Linked DNA regions of Homo sapiens: regions 1, 2, 3, 4, 5 and 7 are each linked to region 6. The links are contacts of gene promoters, found by promoter capture Hi-C in human tissues and cell types (Jung and others, 2019). All regions are on one chromosome and are shown on one strand. Each heading gives the region's core, a stretch centred on a gene start or on the middle of the fragment in contact. The rest is flanking DNA. Distances are from core to core; before and after follow the strand shown. Region 1 overlaps BTBD9 (BTB domain containing 9). Region 2 overlaps BTBD9 (BTB domain containing 9). Region 3 overlaps ZFAND3 (zinc finger AN1-type containing 3). Region 4 overlaps CCDC167 (coiled-coil domain containing 167). Region 5 overlaps BTBD9 (BTB domain containing 9). Region 6 holds the start of ZFAND3 (zinc finger AN1-type containing 3). Region 7 overlaps BTBD9 (BTB domain containing 9).

Region 1 (3,547 bases), core at 1,033-3,532, 380 kb before region 6:
ACATAATGACCTTCAGTTTCATCCGTGTTGCTGCAAATGACATGATTTCATTCTTTTTTATGGCCAAACAGTATTGCATTATGTAAATATACCACATTTTCTTTACCCTTACGTCCATTGATGGACACTTAGGTTGATTCCATCTCTTTGCTATTGTGAATAGTGCCACATTAACATGTGAGTGCAGATATCCCTTTGAAATACTGATTTCTTTTTTTTTGGATAGATAGCCAGAAGTGAAATTGCTGGATCATTTGGTAGATTGCATGTTTCCAGAAATTTATCCATTTCCTATAGTTGTACTTTTAGATTTTTAAAAATTTATTTCTCAGCTTGAAAAATAGTAGTAGTTTATTGAGAAATCTCTATACTGTTTTCCATGGTTTCTGTACTAATTTACATTCCCACCAACAGTGTATAAGAGTTCCTTTTTCTCTTCATTCTTACCAACATCTATTATTTTTGTCTTTTTAATAATAGCATTCTAACTGAGGTAAGATGATATCTCATTGTGGTTTTGATTTACATTTTCCCAATGCTTAGTGATGTTGAGCATTTTTTCATATACCCTTTGGCTATTTGTATGTCTTCTTTTGAAAAGTGTCTATTCATGTCCTTTGCCCATTTTTTAATGAAATTTTTATTTGTACATTCTGGATATTAGTCCCTTGTTAGATGAATAGTTTGCGGGTATTTTCTCCTATTCAACAGATTACCTTATCACTCTATTGATTATTTACTTTGCTGTGCATAAATTTTTAAATTTAATACAGTCCCATTTGGCTAGACCAATATCCTGAACTGGTTTCCCTATGTTTTCTTCTATTATTTTTATAGTTTCAGGTCTTACATTTAAGTCCTTAATCAATCTTGAGTTGATTTTTGTATATGATGAGAGATAGGGGTCCAGTTTGCATATGGATATCCAATTTTCCCAGCACCATTTATTGAAGAGGGTATCCTTTCCCTGGTGTAAGTTCTTGGTTCCTTTGTTGAGTATCAGTTGGCTGTAGATATGTGGATTTATTTCTGGGTGTTCCAGTATACTCTGTTGGGCTGTTTTTATACTCATACCATCTGTTTTGATTACTATAGCCTTGTACTATATTTTGAAGTCAGGTAGTGACTGCAAAGCCTCTAGCTTTGTTCTTTTTTCTTAGGATTGCTTTAGCTATACTGGCTCTTTTTTGGTTCTACATGAATTTTAGGATTTTTTTTTTCTGTTTCTGTAAAAAATGACATTTTTGGGCTGGGTGCAGTGGCTCACGTGTGTAATCCCAGCACTTTGGGAGGCCGAGGTGGTTCATTAGGTCAAGAGATGGAGACCATCCTGGCCAACATGGTGAAACCCCATTTCTACTAAAAATACAAAAAAATTAGCTGGGTGTGGTGCCGCACACTCATAGTCCCAGCTACTCGGGAGGCTGAGGCAGGAGAATCGCTTGAGCTTGTGGGGTGGAGGTTGCAGTGAGCTGAGATTGTGTCACTGCACTCCAGCCTGGCAACAGAGCGAGATTCCATCTCAAAAAAAAAAAAAAAAAACAAAAAAAACGACATTTTTGGATTTTTGGTATTTTTGATGGAGATTGTATTGAATCTGTATATTGTTTTGGGCAGTACAGTCATTTTAATGGTATTAATTATTCTAATCCATGAGCATAAGATGAGTTTCCATTTGTTTGTATTCTCTTCAGTTTCTTTCATCAGTATTTTGTGGTTTTCGTTGTAGAGATTTTCCACCTCCTTGGTTAAATTTATTCCTAGGAATTTTTTTCCATGGCAGCTATTGTAAATGGGATTGCCTTCTTGACTTCTTTCTTAGCTAGTTCATTATTGGTGTATAGAAATGCTACTGAATTTTGTATGATGGTTTTGTATCCTGCAGCTTTACTGAATCTGCTTATCAACCCTTAAGAGTTTTTGGGTGGAATCCTTTGGTCTTTCTGAATATAAGATGTCATCTGCAAAAAGGAACAATTTGACATCCTCTTTTCCAATTCGGATGCCTTTTATTTCTTTCTCTTGCTTGATTGCCCTGCCTATGACTTCTAGTACTATGTTGAATACGAGTGGTGAGAGTGGGCATCCATGTCTTGTTCCAGTTCTTACAGAAAAGAATTTCAACTTTTCCCCATTCAGTACGATGTTAGCTATGGGTTTGTCATAGATGGCTTTTATTATTTTGAGGTATATCCTTATATGGCTAGTTTGTTGAGACTTCTTATTATGAAGGGATGTTGAATTCTATTAAATGCTTTTTCTGTGTCTATTGAAATGATCATATGGTTTTTGTCCTCGATTTTGTTGATCTAATGTATCACGTTTATTGATTTGTGTCTGTTAAACCATCCTTGCATCCCTGGGTTAGATCCCACTTGATCATGGTGTATTATCTTTTTGATGCTCTGTTAAATTTGGTTTGCTAGTATTTTTTTGAGAAGTTTTGTGTCTGTGTTCATTGAGGATATTGGCCTGTAGTTTTCTTTTGTTGTTTTGTTCTTGTCAGGTTTTGGTGTCAGGGTAATGCTGGTCTTGCAGAATGAGTTAAGGAGTATTCCCTCCTCTTTGGTTTTGGGATTTTTTTTTTATTTTTACTTTATTTTTTTTATAGACAGGGTCTTGCTCTGTTGCCCAGGCTGGCATGTCATGGCACAATCAATGCTCACTGCAATCGCAAACTCCCAGACTCAAGCAGTTCTCCTGCCTCAGCCTCCCAAGTAGCTGGTATTACAGGCATGTGCCACCTAATTTTTTAGAATAGTTTGAAGAGGATTGGTATTAGTTCCTCTTTATATGTTTGGTAGAATTTGTCAGTGAATCCATCAGGTCCTGAGCTTTTCTTTGTTGGGAGACTTTTTGTTATGGATTCCATTTCACTACTCATTATTGATCTGTTCACGTTTTCTATTTCTTCCTGATTCAATCTTGATAGATTGCATGTTTCCAGGAGTTTATCCATTTCTTCTAGGTTTTCTAGTTTGTTAGCATATAGTTGTTCAGAATAGTCTTTGATGATCTTTTGTATTTCGGTGGCATCAGTTGTAATGTTTCCTTTTTCACTTCTAATTTTGTTAATTTGGGTCTTCTGTCTTCTTGGTTAGTCTAGCTAGCAGTTTATCAATTTTGTTTATCTTTTCTAAGAACCAATTTTCCATTTCATTGATCCTTTGTATTTTTATGTAGTCTCTATTTCATTTAATTCTGCTCTAATCTTTATTGTTTCTTTCCTCCTGCTAATTTAGGAGTTTGATTTGTTCCTCCTTTTCTAGTTTCTTGAGGTACATTATTATATTGTTGATTTGAAACCTTTCTACTTTTGTATATAGGGGCTTAAATCTGTAAACTTCCCTCTGAGTACTGCTTTTGCAGTGTCCCACAGGTTTTGGTCTATTTTGTTTTCATTTTCATTTGTTTCCCTGGAGAGGGCAGTGCCACCTTCAGTGACAGTAGCCTAGGCCTGCAGGTGGGAAATGCCCGTGGTGCTCATACCTCAGCCCCTGCTGTGGTAGCCAGCACCTTGGTTGCCCCTCAGCCCTGAGTGCATAGC
Region 2 (3,687 bases), core at 901-3,400, 490 kb before region 6:
TCCCAGCACTTTGGGAGGCCAAGGAGGGCAGATCATGAGGTCAGGAGATTGAGACCATCCTGGCCAACATGGTGAAACCCCGTCTCTACTAAAAATACAAAAGTTAGCTGGGCGTGGTGGTGCGTGCCTGTAGTCCCAGCTACTCGGGAGGCTGAGGCAGGAGAATCGCTTGAACCAGGGAGTTGGAGGTTGCAGTGAGCCGAGATCACATCAGCCTGGCAACAGAGAGAGATTCCATCTCAAAAAAAAAAAGTATTAAATAAACCACCACTTTTTCGTGGTTTTTTTGTTTGTTTGTTTGTTTGTTTATTTGGGAGATGGAATCTCACTCCGTCACCAAGGCCAGAGTGCAATGGTATGATCTCGGCTCACTGCAACCTCTGCCTCCTGGGTTAAGCAATTCTCCTGCCTCAGCCTTCCAAGTAGCTGGGATTATAGGCGCCCACCACCACGCCCAGCTAATTTTTGTATTTTTAGTAGAGACAGGGTTTCACCATGTTGGCCAGGCTGGTCTCGAACTCCTGACCTCAGGTGATCCACCTGCTTCAGCCTCCCAAAGTGCTGGGATTACAGGCATGAGCCACTGCACCTGGCCTTTTTGTGGGCTTTTTAAACAACCTTTTGCATGTCTTTTGTTCTCTGTTCAATGTGAATGAGAAATATTCCCCAAGCTGTGGTGACATCTCTGACTTGAGTCACAAACCTGTTGTGACCTGACGACCCTTTAAACTCGTAGTGTGGTACAAAAATAACTCTGTTGGCCCAGGCGCAGTGGCTCAGGCCTGTAATCCCAGCACTTTGGGGGGCTGAGGCAAGAGAAATGCTTGAGCTCAGGAGTTTGAGACCAGCCTGGGCAATATAGCAAAATCCCATCTCTACAAAAAATACAAAAAATAAATAAATAAATAAATAAGCCAGGCTTGGTGGCACATACCTGTAGTCCCAGCTACTCCAGAGGCTGAGGTGGGAGGATCACCTCATCCTGTGAGAGGTCGAGGCTGCAGTGAGCCGTGATCATGCCACTGCACTCCCGCCTGGGCAACAGAGTGAGACCCTGCTTCAAAAAAACAGAAACAAAACAAAACTCTGTTGATTTTAAGTAGCAATCCTGCAACAATTTGAACATCTTTTAGGGAAGAAGGAAAAATAAATTCATGTGAAACTTATGATACTACTCACAGAAAAAGATGCCCTTTATATTAAAACTTCTTAATTTTTTGAGAAATCATTTTGAAAACTTGCAAAACCAGTTTAAGTGACTATTTGTATGTTGGTTATTCCTTCTCCTGTGTTTGTATAAATCACGTTATGTTTACAGTGCAGATGTAAAGTCTCTTCCCTGACAAGTTATGTCCGGAGGAAAGAAAAAAATAGAGATATTGCCTGTTAGTTCAAACACAGAATTGGATGGTTGGTTTATCTTTTTTCTTTATACCTGGAAATGCCTCTGTCCTCAATTTCAAGGCCTCACCTTCAGAGTGAATCCCTCTTTGATATACTGCAGTGGTTATTACTGCTAACATCTGATGCTTGATTCTTTAAGGCCTTTGAATTGATTTTCTCAGCTAAAACCTCTAGCATTTAAACTACAGGATTGTCAAACTGCACATAAGAGAGTAAACCATACAGTTATTTTTGGAAAGTGCTTTCATTCAAAGGCCCCAGTGTGAGGAGAGAGAGAAAATTCACTGATCCTGGTGAACTTGTATGTTTGAGATCTACTGTTGCCACATCACCTCACTTCTGTCCCTGGGGATAACCATCTCTGATTTCTTATCTTCTAGAAAGCAGGCCACTTCCTCTGAAGTGTTTAGAGCTATAGCTTCATAAAATTTGCATGTGTTTGAGGGGCAAAAGGTGGAGGGGAACACATCTGAAGTTTAGGGAAGTTTTAACCTCTTCTTATCACTGGCTAAAATGGACTCAGCATGATTTTTGGAGCCCTTATAATCTTAAGATAAGATGTGATTTGGGCAACCTTGCTAATGTAAAAATTGGAGCTAGAACAGGAAAGATCAGAATACTGGATTAATGCTAATTAAACAGACAAAATAGCAAAGAAAGAAGGAAAAATCGATTAGGGGAAAGGGGCTCCAGTTTTCAAAAGGCATAGCCTGTTTTCCACCCATGGGCTTCACCCACAGGTATGGAGAGGTGGTCAGGACTGAATTCTCTGGAAGTGTGTTCAGAAGCAGCCTTCTCACAGAAGCAGGTGGGGGAAACTTTGGGAAAGGAAAAGCTTAAAAATTGTATGCTATATATAACCCATGGTTTTTCTTTGGTGATGTAATATATGATTGAAAAGTGATTTTCTTAACCTGATAGATAAAACTAGGCATTAATATAACTAAGTGCCTGTGTTGTAGAATACATTTTTACAGCTTTTTGATAGTTTCCAAGAAAGATGGGCTTGTTCTCTAATTAGCTATTGTTCTTTTACAGCTGTTAAGACAGAACAGCTGTGGATATTTTTTCCTCTTGAATAATTTGACAGAAGGTTGGATTACAGTTGGGTTAGAAGCTTGCCTGATCAGCAACAAATTCCTGTGTAGGCCTGGGGCTAGGCCACTGGTGTGTTTCCTCCTTTAAAAAAAGAAGTGATAGGTCTGTGGGAAGACCTCTAGGTAGGACCTTAAGCTAATAGTTATCTTCTTAAACAGGAAATCTTTGTATCTCTATGAAAATCTTGGCAATAGAGAATGATCTACTCAGAGATTATTAACCATTTGCTTGCTGCATGAACCACTGTGCTGTTAGAAAACAATTTTGTAATGAAAACAGCCAGGGAAACATTGAATAAAGCCCAGCAGAGCACAGTGTTTGAAGATGACAGTCCTCTGTAACTGCTAAGTGTTATTTCCTTTTACAAAATCTGCTTCAAGTGGGTCTTTTTCCTCCACCTCTCAAAAGTGATCTCTGGAGACAGTTAAATAACATGTCAGTCTTATCTTTAAATATAGCTGGTACAGGTGGCCCTCAGGTCATGTCCTACTGAAGTAATACTGCCTTTTAAAAAATTTATTACTCCTGAATTAAATTTAGAGGCAAGTCGTTGGCCACCCCTGGTGCTTTGTAAGAACAGAGAGCAGTAAAATTGTTTTCAGATCACTTTTTCTGCAGTTCCCTGCAGTCTGAGTCATTCCAATATTCATACACTTTGCAGAATGTATACACTTTGTTAACATGCAACTTTTGCATTCAGAAGCAGCAGATTAAATTTGTCTGAGCAGAATTGCTATGTGCACAGAGGGGGAAAAGTAATTTCTGTCCAGGCGGTTCACCTTTGCCTTTTGCTCCTAGCACAGGCTGTTGTAATAGGGATGTAGGTGAGGGATGGCAAAGGAACACCAGAAAGAGACAGATACAAGACACTGGGTTTTGGCAGCATGGTTTTGTAAACAAAGTGACACAAATTGGGACAGAAATTCCAGTGGGACAAGGGAGGAAACTGGAAGACTAGAAATAGAGCAGAAAGCTCAGTCCCATCCAGATGGTGTTTTTAATAAATTTATCAGACGCATATGAAAGACGATAATGAACATTCAAAATGGGGAGTGGCCCAGTTCCTCTGGGAAGAAAAACAGTGTGGAACCTTCTGTGTGCTGCATTCAGATATAGAATCACTCTCTAATTTTTCCCAGTAAGAAAGACCACAGAACTTATTCAAACCATTGAGTAATTGTTTAA
Region 3 (3,176 bases), core at 64-2,563, 330 kb before region 6:
TTCTGCTTAGGCATTAATACACTGTTATTACTTGCTTAATTGTCTGTATCTGTCTCTGATTCTTAGACCTTCTCCAAGCCCTCTGACAGGACCCAGTGCTGACAAGATATGGGGCCACCTCGCAGGCCTCGAGCTGTGTGCTGAGTTCCCCCAGAGCCCGCCCCAGGTCCCAAGTCTCCATGTCTTTCTCCGATCACTCCTCCCTCACTGCAGCCTTCCCCCATGTAGTTGCGAGAATGGCTGCTGAGGAAATCAGGTTTTGAGACTCCTGCAGACTTCTCTTGGGTATCTGTGTTACTGTTGTGCCCATCTGGGGCCCTCTCTCTTGGAGACCCCCTTCTTGGGGCTAGAGGGGCTGCTCACAGCTCCCTGAATGTGCTGCTGATGGCTCCCTTGAAGACCACGGCCCACTCCCACCCATGGTTTCCTGTTTCTCACGCCACCCAGCAGGAAGGTTTCTGCTTGTCTTCCCACCATCCCCTCTTCTTGCTGTGGACTGTTGTTGGCATAACAACAGTTATGTTGTTGCTGTGGACTGTTGCTCTGTGAAGCAATCAGGAAGGAGCTGACGCAGACCCAGTTCCTGTGGACCAGTGGGCAGAGCACAGCCCACTGCTCCCTGCAGGCCCGCCTCACACCCAGGCCACCAAGGCCCTCTCTTGCCCTTTGCCCCCGTGCTTGTTCATCGCCACTGGGCCTCTGATTTCCTCTGAGGATTTTCATCACGCTCATGACAACTATGCGGTCAATATCTCTGTCCTAAAAGAAGTGGGGACAGGTCCCACTCCTGTGCCTCGCCCCTGCCCTGCCAAATGTTTTTTGAACATTTAAAAATGTAGTTAAGTTCATCCTATACACCAAAGAGTGCCACAGCACACACCTCCTCCAAGCCAGCCTTTGGGAGCCTTCGTCATCCATCCTGGAGGCCCTTCCTAGGGTGGGGTTCGGGTCTAGGGCATGCTGCCTTCCCTCAGGACCCAGCACCCACCCCACCCACGCCTGGGGCCCTCAGGGCTGGGGCTCGTTTTCTGATCCCCCCCAGTGTGTAACCTCCTGGCTGCTGGCACAGGCTTGGCCCTGCAGACCCACCTTTACCCCAAGGCCAGTCCCGCAGCTTCCCAGGGCAGAGGCTCCCAACAGAAAGCAAGGAAGCGGCTGTTTAGCCTGGACACTAACTGGACGAGTGCCTCCAAGTACTGCAGACGGTCTCTGCACACAGGCCCCCATCTCTTTCCAGCCCTGGCCAGGGAGATGGGTCAGTTTTCCCAGCAACCCAGGGGGCACTTAGGAGAAGGGGTGAAACAAGAAAACCAAACTTTCATACGATTGGTTTAATTTTTTTTTTCAGCAGGAGAAAAAAGAATAAAGTTACAAGATTCTTTTAATATTTTCACAATGTTAAAACTAAAACTGAGCTCTAGGCTATGTGTGTAAGTAAATCTAGAACACAAAAGGGTTAAATAAGATTTTCTCTTTTAAAGATACAAGAATTTAAGCTTTCCTTACATTTAACAAACTTCACAGAACAGATACTGCAGGGGAACAAGCCCCACCCCCCACCCCCCCCAGCTCTAAGTCAGGAAGCGAACATGGGCTTCGCTCCCCCAGGCCAGCTCCCCTGGGCTCCTTCCCATGGCTGCCTCCACGCAGCAGGCAGAGGAGGGGGCGGGGGGCCCTGGGGAGGGCCGGGAAGGGCTCGCACAGCCTCTTCGGGACCAGAGCTTGGCGGAAGCCTATGGGGGGCTGCCTCACTGAGGATGGCCCGTATGGTGGCCAAGGGCTGTGGCTTGACAGCAGTGGTAAACGCTGGGCAGACCTGGCCCCTCTGCCCTGGGTTGCCCTAGAGCAAGACACCGGTCTGGGTCCTGAAGCAAGAATTAAGGCTGGGGATTTTGCAGCGGGTTCCACTCTGGTGGGTGGAGGGTGGGAAGAGCATGACTTCCTATTTCAGTACGTCGGATCAAAAAACATTTGCAGTTGCAGGTGTTCAGCTGTTAATTTGCAGACAGAGTTGAACCATTTGTTGTTTTATAAAAAGGAAAGTTGCTGGGTTAAACTATTCCAGTAGCCTATGTGTGGGCAGATCCACGCTGCCTCCGCAGGGGCCTCCTGCCCTCACCCACCTGGATCTGATGCGGCACTAGGACCACTGGGACTGCTCACCCTGCCTGGGCTTTCAAGGGAATCCTGATCCTGTCCACCCAGCCCCAGCCCCACCTGACTGGTAGTGATTTCCTAACATGGGGCAACCAGGCCCACCCCCACCCTTCCCCACCTGGCGTGCGCAGTTGCAGCTGCTGAAATCCTCTGTGAACATGAGGGGGCACAGGTGGAGAAATGTACCCTCAGGCCCTCACCTACCAGAGCAAATATCACTCTCGGAGCTGGGCCACAGCCACAAACCGCTGTTCTAGACAGATCCAAACCCACTGTCCCTGGGACGTATGCTGCCTTCCCTTACTAAACTTGCTATATGGTAGATGTGGACTGGGTGTCCTTGGACTATGGGGCTGCATAGAAACGAGAATGGAGGCCACGACATCATCCTCTTGGCCCCTGGAGGCACGGGCGGCTCCAGCTGGAAGGGGCAGAGCCCGTGGGCGGCAGCTTCCCCAGCTGCTGCTCCCAGCACTTCTACTGATTCTTGTTGGCTATGAAATGTCTTTTTAAAAAACTCCCAATATAGAAATCTGGCTGCAGAGGCCAGTGTGCAGACCCAGCCACCGCGCTGTGCTGCCATTCGCCACATCTGGTCCGTGCCAGATCCCTGCACTGGCGAATGGCAGACCAGAGCCGGCGGAGGCGGGGCACTCTGGCTGCTTCTCGTGACCTTGGATCCTGTGTAGAAAAGGCGGGTCTCGTTCGTGGACTAGTCTTGAGTGGAGCTAATTTTCAAAGTGAGGTTACTGTTTCTCTTCTTGTGTGATGAGTTTTTTCATAGCAAGTCAGGTAAAAAAATTTCCGTAAGAATCTGTCCCCCACCCCCCATTTCCAGCTCTGTGGGAGAGTGAGGCCACCACCCAGCCCAGCCACGTGGCCAATCTCAGCAGCCTCCCGTGGCCAAGGCACACGTGGCCATCAGGTATCCTGGCTACTGGGACTAAGGATAAGTGAAGAGGTGAAAGGCCGATCATTAAACAGAGTTTCTGGCAAAGCCATGTGCGTCGTGGGAACTT
Region 4 (3,388 bases), core at 442-2,941, 320 kb after region 6:
GGAACAACAAGAACCAACTGTATTCAGGCTAAGGTAGGAGTATGTAAATGAAGGAATATGTAAATAAGTGGGTGTGTCAGTGTTCCACTAAAGCTTTATCTGCAAGAACAGTCCTTAGACCATTTGGCCACAGGGCTTAGTTGCCAACTCCTGGTCTAGAGTACCAGGTCTATGGTGGTTCTGCCAGATTCCCTTCCTCTGTGGCTTCACCATCTCTTGAGATCTTGTCACCTTATCAGTGGAACCGGGGCATACCCCACTGATGTGTCCACCGGCAGAGAAAGAGGAGAATGGAGGAAGCACACCCACTGTCCTGGGCCCAAACTGTCCACTTTCCATTGGCAAGAACTAAAACCCCACCTGACTGCAAGGGATCAGGGAAATGCGTTCACCAGTCAGGAGGCCACATAGCCAGCTACTGTTTGCTTACTATGGAGGAAGAGACCAGTGTGTTTTCACAGACAGCCTGTAGTCTCACTACAGATGGCACCTCACCTCACAGTGTGGTTGTGAGGATTAAATGAGACATTGCGTTAAGTGCCCAGCACGTGCCTGGCACCGGATTGGTAATCAATACATGGTAGCTCCAGCCTTTGTATTTCTTTTGCATCCTTCCACCATGGCTAAGTCAAACTCGTTCTTGGGCATTCGTTCACTCATCTATAACATGAAGGACTTGAATTTCACCAGGGGTTACAAACTCCTTGACTATGGCCCAAATACAGATCACAGATGTCTTCTGTTTGGCTGACAGACTTTTAAGTTTTTATTTTATTTTATTTTATTTTTAGACAGGGTCTTGCTCTGTTGCCCAGGCTGTAGTGCAGCGGCATGATCTCAGCTCACTGCAGCCTCCAGCCTCCCGGGTTCAAGCAATTCTCGTGCCTTAGCCTCCCGAGAAGCTGAGACTACAGGCGTGCACCACCATGCCCAGCTAAGTTTTGTATTTTTAGTAGAGACGGGGTTTCACCATGTTGGCCAGCTGGTCTTGAACTCCTGACCTCAAGTGATCCGCCCGCCTCGGCCTCCCAAAGTGCTGGGATTACAGGCGTGAGCCACCACACTCGGCCGGATTTTTACGTTTTTAAACTTGGTGGGGCATGTATTCTCCAAGTGCCTTATACTGGGGCAGATTCCATTGTTTTACCCTCTCCATACCACGGTAGATGTTTATATTTGCTATCTTGGTCCCTAAGTTTACTTTTTGCTTGGATATTCGAAGATTTGACATCTGTAACCGTGTGCCTTGGAAAAAGCCTGACATCTGGCTGGCTGTCTCCCCACCTTGCTTCTCAGTTGCCCCCAGCGGGTCTGAGTATTGAATGTGCACTGATGCTCAGTAGCAGTAGATATTGTCCTCTTATTAAAAGTTGTGTGCTCAGAGCCAATGAAGTGGTGATTTAATCAAAAATGTTTGTTAATCTGACGAGTGCAATAAAACCCCCACAAGTGAGTGATCTCAGCACCTGCAAACAGTCTCCACTTGTAATGAAGCAATTACCAAGCAGGCAGCACTCACCCTTAGGGCTGGCTTGGGCCAGCTGTATAAGCAGCCACCTCTTAGGACAACCAGGGCACCCTCTAGCCTCCCCCTCAAAGTGGTTCCTTTTGAGGTCTTTTTATCCAATTCATTTGCCACCATATGAGATCTCAGAGTTGGAAAAAACTGTGAGTTTTAGCTTCTGAGATTTCATTCTTAATAAGAAAAGAAAATTATAGTTCAAATGAGAAATCACCCACCCAGTACTGATTTTAATGTTGTGTGGGAGGAAGGAAAGGTTGAATTTCAGTCTAAACTGATAGGAGAATTTTGACTGATGTAAAACCTGTTTGTGTTTTCGGATCTCTGATGGTAATGAGCTGTTCCTTTGTCATTGCACTTTTCTTTTGTAGCTGGACTGTTCAAACTGGTGTCTTTAGATGTTTCAGTGACCAGTTGGTCTTGAGTTAACAGATGTGTGGTGTCTTAGCCGGTATCCTAAAGTGGATAACTTGGTTGGATCTGACCCCTAGTACAGAAAGTTTATCAGTTTGGAAAGCTTTTGGCTACAAGTTATAGAAAACTGACCTCAATGATTTAAGCAAATGGGAGTAGACTTTTCCCCTTATAGAAATTTGTAGGGGCCAGGTGCAGTGGCTCACGCCTGTAATCCCAGTATTTTGGGAGGCTGAGGCAGGTGCATCATTTGAGGTCAGGAGTTCGAGACCAGCCTGACCAACATGGTGAAACACCATCTCTACTAAAAATACAAAAATTAGCCAGGAGTGGTGGTACACGCCTGTAATCCCAGCTACTCGGGAGGCTGAGGCAGGAGAATTGCTTGAACCCAGGAGGTGGAGGTTGCAGTGAGCCAAGATCGTGCCACTGCACTCCAGTCTGGGCAACAGAGACCCCGTCTCAAAAAAAAAAAAAAAATTTGTAGGTAGGTGGCTACTGGCATTGGTTCAAAAGCTTAGCTATGTCAGAGTTGGTATTTCTGCATTCTCTTCACTGTTTCCTCATGGTCACAATATAGCTGCCACAGCTCCAGTCTAATATTCAACTTTAACTCAGGAAGGAGGAGGAAGGAACAACACTGTCCCTTTTATCAACAAAGCATAAGCTTCCCCAGGAGTCTCCTAGCTGACTTCTGGAACGTCTCATTGGCCAGAACTGGGTCATGAGCAAGCCTAGCTGCAGTGAGGTTGGGAGAGCATCTGCTGAGCTTTTCCACCTTCTGGAGTAGAGGTGGGCAAAGGAGCAGGGGTGGGGAGTCGGTGTTGTGTTGGCCAGTTGACAGTATCTGCTGTAAGGAATAAATGCTAATGGGAGTCATTGAAAATTCACTGGAATCCTTACCAGAAAAAGAGGGCAGGATCGGCTGGGTGCGGTGGCTCACGCCTGTAATCCCAACACTTTGGGAGGCCCAGGCGGGCGGATCACCTGAGGTCACGAGTTCGAGACCAGCCTGACCAACGTGGAGAAACCCCATCTACTAAAAATACAAAATTAGCCAGGCATGGGGGTACATGCCTGTAATCCCAGCTACTCGGGAGGCTGAGGCAGGAGAATCGCTTGAACCTGGGAGGTGGAGGTTGCGGTGAGCCGAGATGGTGCCATCGCACTCTAGCCTGGGCAACAAGAGGGAAACTTCGTCTCAAAAAAAAAAAAAAAAAAAAAAAAAAGGCAGGATCACTGACCATGAGAAGTGGTAGGCTGAGGGGAGAGAATGGCCTAGGCCAGGAAGAGCACCGGAAGGCTTGACGCTTGTGGTTATTTGTATGGTGCCAGCCACTGCAGTAGCCTCCGTGGGGCAGGGCAGGCAGAAGCACCAAGTGTGGCTGAAGACGGTCTCCGCTCTGGAGCAGGCTGTGCACAGGGCTCAGGGGAACCTCCCACTTTCCTGAG
Region 5 (3,459 bases), core at 177-2,676, 460 kb before region 6:
TAGTCAGTTAAATTAACAATTTTTACATTGGTTTGAACGATGTTTTTGCAATTGATATGTGCAATAGAGTAAGTGAAATACCCAAAATATTTTAAATAACAAATAATAGTAAATAGGGTGTCAAAAGATAAGACTGTTTAGATAGATGCAGCTAACTAAACCCATTGTCTCTGTGGGTGTTGTGAGTATTAAGAAGTTAATGACACAAAAACATTTTGAGTTCTTCAGTTGGAAAATATTATATAAATGCAATATGTTAGGACAAAAGATGTCTAGCCCAAAATAGTTTCTTGATGGGTATTCATAATCTCTTTAGTCTGTGGGGTGAAGCTCTTTTTGTTTTGCAGAAGGAAAAAACAATTCTACCACTTTAAAAAGTTAATCTGGCACAGACTGTCTGAACCACAAATCAGTTTATGTCTTGTAGTTATTAAGTAGATAAAAAGAAGTAATAGCAAGTTGATCCTAAAAAAATAATAATAATAAAAGAATTACATATGCCACTGTGGTCCTTATTCATCTGGTATATTTTTCTTTCTCTGTGAACTGTCAAGCCCATGCCGAGTTCAATTGTCCTTTCACTATTGTGTGGCTACAACCAACTCTAGATTATCTATTCAGTTTGTAAATTACCGTGACCTCCTTTAGACTGCTATTTTTTCTTCTTCCTGCTGCTTACCACCCTGCCTAACTGTTGCTCATGCACTTCCCTCCAGAAGGATAAGCACAGAAAAGAAAAAGGAGAGGAACTGTAAAAAATGCCATTTTTTTCCTACTTAATAGCCAAATGAAGGCTTAGTCAATAAGGGTGGGTAGAGGAATTGGGGCTAATGACTCAAATAATGTTTTGTAATTATTTGAGTATTTTCTACATCTGTGCTGCACTCAATCTCTAGTAGGACCACAGATAATCTCAAATTGAAGATAGTGATTTTTTAATGTTGTGATGAGCTTGAGTCTTTGCAGCAGTTTCCAAATGCATAGTATGCTTCTCTGTGCTGTGAGTACTCAATAAACACTCATTGACTAAACTGACAACATAGATGCTAGTGCAACTAAAGGGAGTTCTATCTAGCAACTAAATTGGACATCATATTTGCTCAGTGTGTCTTATCTAAGTGTATGTGAGGAAACTGCTAAAGATCCAACATCTCCAGCAAATGACTGAGATTGAGCTCTGGAGTTAGGCTCTGACATTAGCACAGGTGATGACATTAGCACAGGTAAAAATGCTTGCCTCACTTGTTCCATGCCGCTTCCATTTCATTCTGTCTGAGTGCTGCACAGGCAAGCAGTACATCTATTTACATTAAGACAGCCTTCTTTGCAACCTAGAGAGCTAGAAATTTCCTTTTTATAGCCTGAAGAATACAGCAAACATCTAAATATATGACTCTTCTGGCTTGGATTAAGATTGCTTATAATTCTAGTCAAAATTGGAAAGATATTTTACAAAATTTGCTTCATATCAGTCATGCTGAATGTCGTCTGTCACAGCCCGGAACCAAGGAATTCTTCCTTGTCTCACTGATCCATGATTTATTACTAAGTGTTGTTTCTCTCTGAGCCTATCTGCATCACTCTAAAGTCTTCTTTTATCACCCTCAGACCTCAGAGCTCTGGTTCCCAGAAAAATCATACAGCAAATAATTTTATCTATGGTTCCCAGTAGGTGCTGAAGTCTGAACTGTGTGAATGCATAGAGGGCCAGAAATCCTGGATCCTGGAAACAGATAGCAGGATAGTTTGGGGGCATGGTAAATATGCCTCAGCCAGTTTCATCCTAGAGGTATTTCAAGACCAGACAGTATTGCTATGGCAACTAAGTTGTGTGTTAAAAATACAGGAGGAGCACTAGAATTCAGATGTTCTTTGGAAAAGCAGGAAAAGTTAAATGCCAAAAAAAAAAATATGTTTGTGTGTTCATGTGTGTGATTTACCTCACATGTCAACCATTTACCTCTGTTGAGTGATTGGAGAACTTGGCAAGTAGTCATCATAAGATATAGCTGGATATATGAAAAGAATCCTTTTAGCTTTCCAAGATTTTAACCCATCAATAAGACATTTTTACAGAGGATTTCGGCCCCATCTGACCCATTTTTTCATGCACACGTGTGTGTTTAGTAATTATCTAGAATTGTTAAGAACTCTTTAAAACAAATACTTCACCGGTAGTGATTATAGCAATCATTTTAAAAACCAGAATTGTTCACCTTGGAAAACGAAATGAGTGGAAAGCATCAGCCTCCTCCTTCTGTGGCAGATGTTTTATATGCTGCTGCCCCAGGATAGGCCACACGGGGTCACAGAAATGCAGCTATTCTCATGAGGGCTAACAGAAGCATAGGACTTCAAGCAAATTGAAATTTGTACACATTTAATACATCAAATTGCTTTAATATAGCTTTTGAGTATTTTTCAGAATAAAGCTATTCTGAAAAAACTGATGAAGGGTCACAGTCATTTAAGGCTAATTCTTGAATTAATTCAAAGCAGTGATCTACCTTTGAAAATCTTCTTATTCTTTCCCCAAGTACCCTTAAATCAGAGACTCTTTTCCCAGGAGCCCAACTTTGTCACTTTGTTCAGATACTTTTGGTACATCTCGATAGCACCTGATGTCAGTGTATCTCTCTTTTTAAAAAGCTTAGCCCCTTACATTGGTAACCACAGAGGCACTTGACCAAAACATGCTTGTATATCTACTTAAGAACAAGCAGAAGCACTGAGACCAAGAAAAACTCTTTCATCTCCTCTTCTTGCCTCTCCTCTCTGTCTACCTCCATTTCTGCATTCTTCTTCTAGGAAAGATGATTATGATGACAGGCTGGTTGGTGCCCGTCAAGGACTCCTTTCAGCAACTTTCCTGGACACTCAGGGTCTTAGCTCTAGCTGAGGAATCATTATTTGCCTGCTGCACTGCCTCTTTCAGCAATGTATCAGATTCAGTGCAAGGGGGATTGGTTACATAGATAAATGCAGAGTATGCTTTTACTTCTCCCTGGATTTTCTTTCCTTGCTGCCCTTAAGACTTAATGGTCAGGATCTTCTTTCTTCCTTTTACCTTATTATGCCTGAAACCATATCCCTCAATGGTTATGATATTACCTGCCTTGCCACATTATTCTTTTACTGTAACCAAACACCAGCCAAGAGTGTTTAGACCTTCTGTACAGTTTAATTTTTAGAAATGGCTAATGGTTCTTTTGGTCACCATGTCTTACAGTGGTTCTGGAGCTTTAGCTGCTCTCACTGTTTTCATTTACAAGATGAAGAAATCAAAGCATAGTTTGAGTTTCATCCCTTTCTCTCCATCAGGAGTAGGACAACACAACCCATGGTAAAACTCCAGCTCCAAAGATTCTAATTTGTTTCGTGATCCTGCAGAACCTCCTATAGCCTTACAAAGAAAATGAAAGGAGCCATCACATCTTATGGTTCAATCCACCCTTGATT
Region 6 (3,492 bases), core at 852-3,351:
AAAAGGCTATTCCATTTCCTTAGTTTCTAAGCCTTGATATAAGTCTTTCGATAAAGATTCCATTCATGGTAACAGTCCGAAGGACATAAACGTGTTGCCAGGAAAGAGACCTGATACATCCTGAGCATTAGCTGCCACTGGCAGCGACTTTCTTTAGGACATATGTCTTACAATGAGTTACAATCTGAGGCTTGTGACACAAGATTTTTCCAGGGCAGCAGACTGATACCATAAACATGATGGTACTACGCACTCTAAAGAGCTCACCAGCTCCACCCTACACTCCCTGTGTGAAGCGGCAAATTATCCACCCAAAGCCTCAGTTTCCCCAGCTAATAATGAGATAATGGTTCCTACCTCGCAAGATTCTTGTGGGAATTAGACAGTCCATGAAAGCACTTCACAGGCAAACCAATTATTTTCAAATCAAAATGAAGGGAAGACTAGAAATATTTTCACATTTTTAGGACTTTTTATATGCCACAACTTATTTTTGACTAATGTCCTTCCACAGGGAAATTTTTGAGAAAGGCAGAAAAATGAGAAAATGAAAATCCACTTCTTTGTCATAACCTTGAGATACGACAACTTCCACAGAAGTCTACATTAAGATCCACTTTCTAATCTTTCTCTGCACTCCCAAAATTACTCTTAATTTCTGTTAACCATTCCTACAATATGGGAGATAGCAAAGGGAAAACTACTTCCATACTTCTTCCCAAGATGTCCTCACCAGAAACAATCTTCCTTCCTGCCTCTATGTCTCCAAATATACGGAATCTCTCAAAAAATAAAACTAAAACAAAACGATAAAAGAGAAAAGGGACTCAAATCACAAAAGCCAGCCTTCAAAGTCTCCAGCTTTCTTACTGCAGAACTACAGTCATGTGGTATGATGGAGGCACCTGTTAGGTGGCAATCCATGAAGCTTAAAGTGTTACCAGGAGAATTTAAACAGTAATGGGGGGAGGAAGAGGAGCTGATTTCCCACCTCACATTTTTTTCGCCTTAACACATGATGGCCAAACAATATATGCTACCCACTGTCAACATTTTTATCATTTTTACTTAAATTGAGAAAGAGGAGAATTTGAGAGCCAACTGAGGAAACTGGATCTCATATTCCCCAATCCAGGCTGACTTCAGGTTTTGTGTGGTTTTTTTCTTCCTTTTTGACAAGGAAATTTTACATATCTCCTGAAACGTGTTTTACATGAAGGTGAGACCTCAACAATCTTATAACTTTACCCCAGCCTGGTTCTGGACTCGGTTTTTACAAACGGGTGACGTGTGAATAGCTTCCTAAAAGCAAATGGGGCACTGGGATATAATCTAGGAAGTGATGATGCAAGTCTCCGGAGGACGGGGAGGAGGGGAGGTGAAGAAGTCAGAGGAAATACCCTCCTAGTGCCTGGGCACCAACTCACGCCCCGGGAGGGAGGAAGGGCTGGCTTCCACATGCCCACGGAAGGGGCACCCCTGCTCCTCCCGGAGCGGTCAACGCCGCCCCCTCATCCCTCCCCGCCGCCCTGCCCCCCTCACCCGTGGCCCAGGAGGCCCCCGTGGGCCCGAGCTTCAGGCCGGCGAGTCCCAAAGGGTAGCAACGCACCCCCGGCAGGGCCTTCTCTGCCCACCCCCAGCTCCCCACCCGGCACCCCTCCCCGGAACGCGACCCCCACCCCCTCCCCGTAGGCCCGGGCTGGGCCCAGCCTCCAAGGTTCCGGCCTCCCGGGCCCCGAGGCCTGCCCAGGCTGCCCTGGCGTCTGCGCCCCCGGCCCCCGCCCCCCGCCCCCACCCGGCCGGGCACTTACCCCCAGAAGCCGCAGGGACAGCGAGGCGGCAGGCTGGGCGCTTTGCTGCGCTCGCTCCCAGCGTCTCCCATGGTGCTCGGCGGCGGCGGAGCTCGGCGGCGGCAGCGGTGGCGGCGGCTGGGCCCGGGCCCCGCTCTGAGGAGGCGGTGGCGGCGGCGTCGGGGGGCTCGGGGCGGGGGGAGGGGGAAGGAGCGGGCGCGCGGGCGGGCGCGAGTCCGGGGCTCGGAGCCGGGATTCCAGGCCGGTCAGCTGGAGGCGGGCCGCACCACTCGGCCTGCGGAGACGGGGAGGGGGCGGAGAGGCGCGGAGAGAAGAAGGAGGGAGCCGAGGAGGAGGGGCGTGCGGACGCACCGAGGACCGCGGGGGAGGAGGGACACAGACGCCCTCGGCGGGTCTCACCGCCGCTCCCCAGCCAGAGAGATGTCCTGTGCGGTGGCGCAGGGAAGGACCGGAGCCCCCCGCCGGCTCCGGAGTCGCAGCGGCCGCTCTGAAGCCCCGGGCCCTGCTGTCTCCGTAACACCGTCCCCTCCCCCGGAGGCTGCGCTGACCGGACAATGGCCGCTCCGCCCCCTCCCCGGCGTGCGCCCCTCCCGAGGAGTCACAATGGTCTCGCCCGGGGGAGCCAACGCCAAAGCCCAGCCGCTGATCAGCTGGGATCCGGGCGTGCCACTTCGTTCCGCGCCTCAAAGGCGGAGTGCGGGGCTGTGGGAGAAAACGAGAGCCTCGGGCTGTCGCCCGGCGACGGGCGGCTGAGGCCTTCGTATTCTTAGAACTTTTAGAATCTGAAGCAAACTTATCTTCCCCCTGTCTGAAGAAGGGGAGCAGGTTTCTGAGTACTCCGGGGCGCGGTGCCTCCCCCTAAACGCGAATGGTGCGCTCCAAGCGGGAGGGGGAGGAGCAGATTAGTTGTGTAGGGTAAATTGGGCCAGTCCCAGAGTGGCGGCGCATGCGCCCGTAGAACCCGTAACCGAGTGCGAGGAGGGGCCTGGGGGAGCAATGCCAAACGCGGAAGTGGAGCTCTGGCTTCCCGGGGGCGTCGGAGTCAAGGTCCCTGGAGCTGCCGCTCTGGCTCCTGGGCGATTCCGGGGAGCCATTCTCCCCAATTTGCCAACTCCCTGGGCATCTCTCTCTCTCTTCCTGGTCCCGCCACACCCAAACAACTCTTATAGTTCCACCCGGTATACTGGTCTCTTGACAGGAACTTTTGGGAAATGCCCCTCCCCCAGCCCCTTGTCTGGGGCAACTTCCTTGTCTCTTCTCCCCCACCGGTGTTGGGGAGTTCCTTGTCTCCACTCCCAACCACAGAGCCACAAGTACATTATCTATGCCCAGGCGAGTCCCTATGCCCAGGCTAGGAGAGCCGCACTTCTTCCTACAGCTGACACGTTTGGTTTTTGGAGGGGAAAGGGGAGCTGTAGCTGAATCAGTAATGGAAATTGGTAAGTGACCAAAGAAGTTTGAGACACTAAAAAAATGAGTCCTTTAACGATCCTAGTCCTTGATCCTGAGCTCATTCTGATCTCCAGTTAGTCATGAACAGAGAAATCGATTATTGATGACTAATTCAACACGGAGGCAACATCCTCCAGACCTTTTGGAGACCCATCGCTGAGGAAGACTTCCTGGCTCTTAGGAATAGCTGCCGTATACCCTCCTTGCCTGTCGGGTATATCAGAGCCTC
Region 7 (3,541 bases), core at 807-3,306, 410 kb before region 6:
CACAGCATTCCAGAAGTGCCCATTGCCGCAGAACTCACTGTTCTCCAGTCTGGCTGCTAATCAGAGCACAAGATCCCTGAGTTCTTGGCAAGGAGAGAATGCCAGTCCCAGGCCCCCTTCTCCATTATACTCTCAGAGCTCTGTCAGCAGCAGAGCTGCATACATAAAGGAAAGTGATCCCTTGTTTCTTTCTAGATATGCAGCCGTGACCTTCTGCAGGAGTCTTTATGGCCTCTCTGAAGCACTCTTGAACCTATTCCTCAGCCTGCCACTGTGGCCAGCCAGCCCTGCCGTCCCAGCCACTTTCTGATCACCTTCCTTCCCAGCCTCATCAGGCGGAAGGGATAGGGACAGTAACTGACATGTTTGTCTGGGGCTCTGTAGCACTTTGCCAGACCTCATTGTGTGCCTCTTTATTCTCCTATTTTTGAGAGGTTCATTGTTTAGGCCTTCAAGCATCTTTGGATTAGAGATCCAAGGAATTAAAAACCAGCATATAGAAGAATGTAACCGCCTACTAAATATGTGCTCCTAAAACAAAACCAAGTGGCAGCACTAATGCCGACAGCCAGGACCTCAAAGTACAAACCCTAAAAGTGGTCTCATTTGGAAGCAAATCAGAATCCCAGAATCCTCAGAAAACTCCAGAGAAAATTTATGACCTTCCTCTAAACAGTGTTCTGCATCTCCTTTCAGTATAGCATTTGGTTTCTCTCTCTAGTGACTTCGCACTAAGGGGACTTGAGGCACACAGTGGGTGAGCAAGCCTCTCCAGGACATACTTGTTAAGTGTAACCCTCACATTGCCCCAGCCTCTGCTAGTCGCCACTGTAAAATGCTGGGTCAAATTGTGGTTATAAAGTCAATTGCTTCCAGAGTAAACCTGCTGTCTTTGGATCTTTGTTTTATTCAAGGCTGCTCTGTCAGCTGTAGGCTTGCCTTTGATAGGCCGCAGCAGTGGTTTTCATGTCTAACTAGGATTTTAATGTTTGTGAGAGACTGTAGTTAATTGGATCCCCATGGTACCACAAATGACTTTAGAAGCCTCTTATGTCAGTGGAGGTAACTCTGTGAGTGCGTGTGTGTGTGTGCATGTTTGTGTGTGTACACACCTGTCCTCACCCCTGAGCAAGCACCTTGAGATTTAAGTGTTCTTATGCCCAAATCTCAGGTTTGAGCATTTTTAATACTTGTTTTTCCAGAGTCAAAAACCTTGCCATCACCCCTAGATTCTTAACCTTTCTCCTTGCCTACTCTTCAGTTGTGTGTGTTGTTTTGGGGGCAGTTGGGGCAGAACAGCCAGACTCATCTCAGCCTGTGTCTCATCTGCAGTCACAGAGCTAGAGATTCTCTGTGAACCTCTGCCATCTTGCTGGCTGCTGCACGCCATCCAAGCCCCATTTCCTGACTCCTTTTGCAGAGTTGGAGCAGCAGCAAGGAACCCCTGCCCCCACTCTGTCATCACTGTAGTGCTCTGTTCAGTTACTGTAAGAGCTGCTGAGTCCTGCCTGGTTCCCTGTTCTGTCTTGAGAAGGGTGGCCACAGACAGTTGCTTATACATATGTTGCCATGCTTTGAACTGTGCAGGCGCGGGGATCAGTATCTTATCAGTTCTCCACAAAAGAGGTGGTTTCACACTCCCACCCCCCTTTGAAACCTAAGGTGACCTATCCTAGTAACCTGAACAAGCCTAACTAACATTCCTATGGATGGAGCAAAGAAACAGAGAGGGCAGGTGAGAGCAAGTGTTATTATAAGAAAATAAGCAAGGCACAGGAAGAGCTAAGTACTTTGGAGCAAAAAAGACTAGTGTGCCTTAGGATTTGGGAACCCTGGAAAGTAGAGAAGCTAATCCACCTTTGGCCTTTGGCCTCATAGTTAAGCCTTGCCAATGAAACGTGCTCAGTCATCAAGTACCAGTATTGTTAGTCTTCTCTATGTGTGTGTCATATCTGCCTTAAATAAATTGATGCAATGAAAGTAATCTGTAAGTGGTAAAACTCTATACAAACATCAGATGTCATTAGGTCGTTCTGACTAGATTGTAAGCACCTTGAAGTCCTGGGTTGCCCCTGATGCTTCTTTTTCCTCTCATAGGTAGTCCCTCGTACCCCTGCCCTTGCCTGGCTGGTTAAGTGACCCTTTCCAGCCAAGCTAGAGTTGGCCTCCCCTGTTATTCCTTCATAGCACCTGTCACAATTTATAATTTTAAGTTATTTATAACTTAAGTTTTTCCATTAGGCATTAAGTTCCTTAAAAGTGGAGACCATGTCTGCTTTGTTCATATCTACATTCTTAGCACCTATAAAATGCCTGGCACATATTAACAGTTTTTTATTAATAGTTACTAAAGGAATGGTTCCACAGGAGGACATTAGTAAGTTTAGGGCCAGGGAATGCCCCTTCTCTCCTATATCTTACCACTGGGGAAGCTTTTGGTCTTCACCTTCAGGGTCTATGGGGCTAGCTTTCTAATGTCTCCTGAGCATTTTGCATCTTCCCATTAACTGTGAATTTCACTGCTGGTGACTTCATTCAAGTGAATCTCAGAGCCTCTAGGACACATCATTGGGCAAGATGTGGCAGCTACCTTTGCTGATTTGTTTCTATTCCATTTGTCCATGGCATTGTGGGAAAAGAGATAGATGGCCTTGGTTCCCTAGCTGGAGTGAGGTAGGTAAGAGAACTTCTGACTGAACATTTCCGTCCTTTGAATTTTGGTACAAATGCAAAGGCTGCCTTGAGGGGCACTCACAGAGCCAGCATGCTTTTTCATATCTTCCTGTCCATGGTAAGTGCCCCTTTCATAGGAGAGCTCATTAAGACCCACATTCACCATCTACCAGCAAGAATTCCATCAGAAGTTAGTTACCTTAAACTAAGTGTGACTTTCTGACTCACATTTATGAATATACCCAGTTAGATTATAGAACTGCAACATCATACTTATTACCTTGAAATTACATTTTTGTTCTGAATGACCAAGCCTTGTAAACAATGTAAGTACTACCTAACACACATATTCTGAAACAAGCTCCACGTTAAGCGTTGGTTTGTAATGGGTGATATTTGGATAGCTCTGATTAAATATGTAAATTATGAAAATTAGAAGTGGAAAAAAAGTTACCTTTGTACTTGAACCAGCTACATATTGATCTTTGACTCAATAATGGATCATTCTCTCTCTTATAGATCTTGGTCTTACACAAGTTTTTTCTTTTGTATTTTTTACTCTTCATGTGTGGTTTCCTTACTCTTGTTCAGACCTTTCAGTTGATAGAGCTTCTCCATTGTGTGTATTTTGGATGGTAATCTCTAAAAAGCCTTTGTGTGAGGTTCTTAAGTATTTTTCATCCAACATTGGTTTTACCCCAAGGGTCCTCTTCCCTGAAGCAGTAGCATTGGATTTGGACAGTCCTTTCCTTTCTCATCATAATGAGATGGCCCTCATCCAGAAATACGCTCATGGCCATATCTGAGATTAGGAATTTTGCTCAGGCCAGGCGCTTGCCAACTGAGCCAGGAAAATAGACAAATCCAA

Evidence for each region. The method cuts DNA at HindIII sites, captures the fragments that hold promoters and counts their contacts. A contact is called where the count stands out against the background at its distance.
Region 1: a fragment that was not itself captured here is called in contact with the fragment with the promoter of ZFAND3 in region 6 in 2 of the 25 tissues and cell types used here (IMR-90 fibroblasts and mesendoderm cells).
Region 2: a fragment that was not itself captured here is called in contact with the fragment with the promoter of ZFAND3 in region 6 in 2 of the 25 tissues and cell types used here (bladder and hippocampus).
Region 3: a fragment that was not itself captured here is called in contact with the fragment with the promoter of ZFAND3 in region 6 in 3 of the 25 tissues and cell types used here (dorsolateral prefrontal cortex, hippocampus and mesenchymal stem cells).
Region 4: a fragment that was not itself captured here is called in contact with the fragment with the promoter of ZFAND3 in region 6 in 1 of the 25 tissues and cell types used here (aorta).
Region 5: a fragment that was not itself captured here is called in contact with the fragment with the promoter of ZFAND3 in region 6 in 6 of the 25 tissues and cell types used here (IMR-90 fibroblasts, dorsolateral prefrontal cortex, hippocampus and 3 more).
Region 7: a fragment that was not itself captured here is called in contact with the fragment with the promoter of ZFAND3 in region 6 in 1 of the 25 tissues and cell types used here (dorsolateral prefrontal cortex).

The regions. Positions count from the first base shown.
Region 1 is chr6:38,200,081-38,203,627 of GRCh38, reverse strand. The region is part of intron 9 of BTBD9 (BTB domain containing 9); the gene reads left to right. Among named protein-coding and RNA genes, the nearest start is that of BTBD9-AS1, 280 kb to the left of the region's middle. The HindIII fragment of the contact is 7,341 bases long and covers 1-3,547 here.
Region 2 is chr6:38,305,996-38,309,682 of GRCh38, reverse strand. All of the region lies in intron 7 of BTBD9 (BTB domain containing 9), which reads left to right. Among named protein-coding and RNA genes, the nearest start is that of BTBD9-AS1, 170 kb to the left of the region's middle. The HindIII fragment of the contact is 4,773 bases long and covers 1-3,687 here.
Region 3 is chr6:38,152,765-38,155,940 of GRCh38, reverse strand. ZFAND3 (zinc finger AN1-type containing 3) reads right to left here. Exons shown (of 6, transcript NM_021943.3): 6 at 1,317-3,176. Among named protein-coding and RNA genes, the nearest start is that of BTBD9-AS1, 330 kb to the left of the region's middle. RefSeq lists an enhancer at 2,284-2,904. The HindIII fragment of the contact is 3,909 bases long and covers 1-3,176 here.
Region 4 is chr6:37,493,834-37,497,221 of GRCh38, reverse strand. All of the region lies in intron 1 of CCDC167 (coiled-coil domain containing 167), which reads left to right. Among named protein-coding and RNA genes, the nearest start is that of CCDC167, 4.4 kb to the left of the region's middle. The HindIII fragment of the contact is 5,400 bases long and covers 1-3,388 here.
Region 5 is chr6:38,278,461-38,281,919 of GRCh38, reverse strand. All of the region lies in intron 8 of BTBD9 (BTB domain containing 9), which reads left to right. Among named protein-coding and RNA genes, the nearest start is that of BTBD9-AS1, 200 kb to the left of the region's middle. The HindIII fragment of the contact is 8,508 bases long and covers 1-3,459 here.
Region 6 is chr6:37,818,336-37,821,827 of GRCh38, reverse strand. ZFAND3 (zinc finger AN1-type containing 3) reads right to left here and starts at 2,101. Exons shown (of 6, transcript NM_021943.3): 1 at 1,812-2,101. The coding sequence starts at 1,882. ZFAND3-DT (ZFAND3 divergent transcript) reads left to right here and starts at 2,441. Exons shown (of 2, transcript XR_007059569.1): 1 at 2,441-3,250; 2 at 3,338-3,492. RefSeq lists silencers at 1,475-1,644, 1,805-2,034, 2,075-2,454 and enhancers at 1,733-2,535, 2,505-2,894. The HindIII fragment of the contact is 25,591 bases long and covers 1-3,492 here.
Region 7 is chr6:38,224,308-38,227,848 of GRCh38, reverse strand. The region is part of intron 9 of BTBD9 (BTB domain containing 9); the gene reads left to right. Among named protein-coding and RNA genes, the nearest start is that of BTBD9-AS1, 260 kb to the left of the region's middle. The HindIII fragment of the contact is 3,539 bases long and covers 287-3,541 here.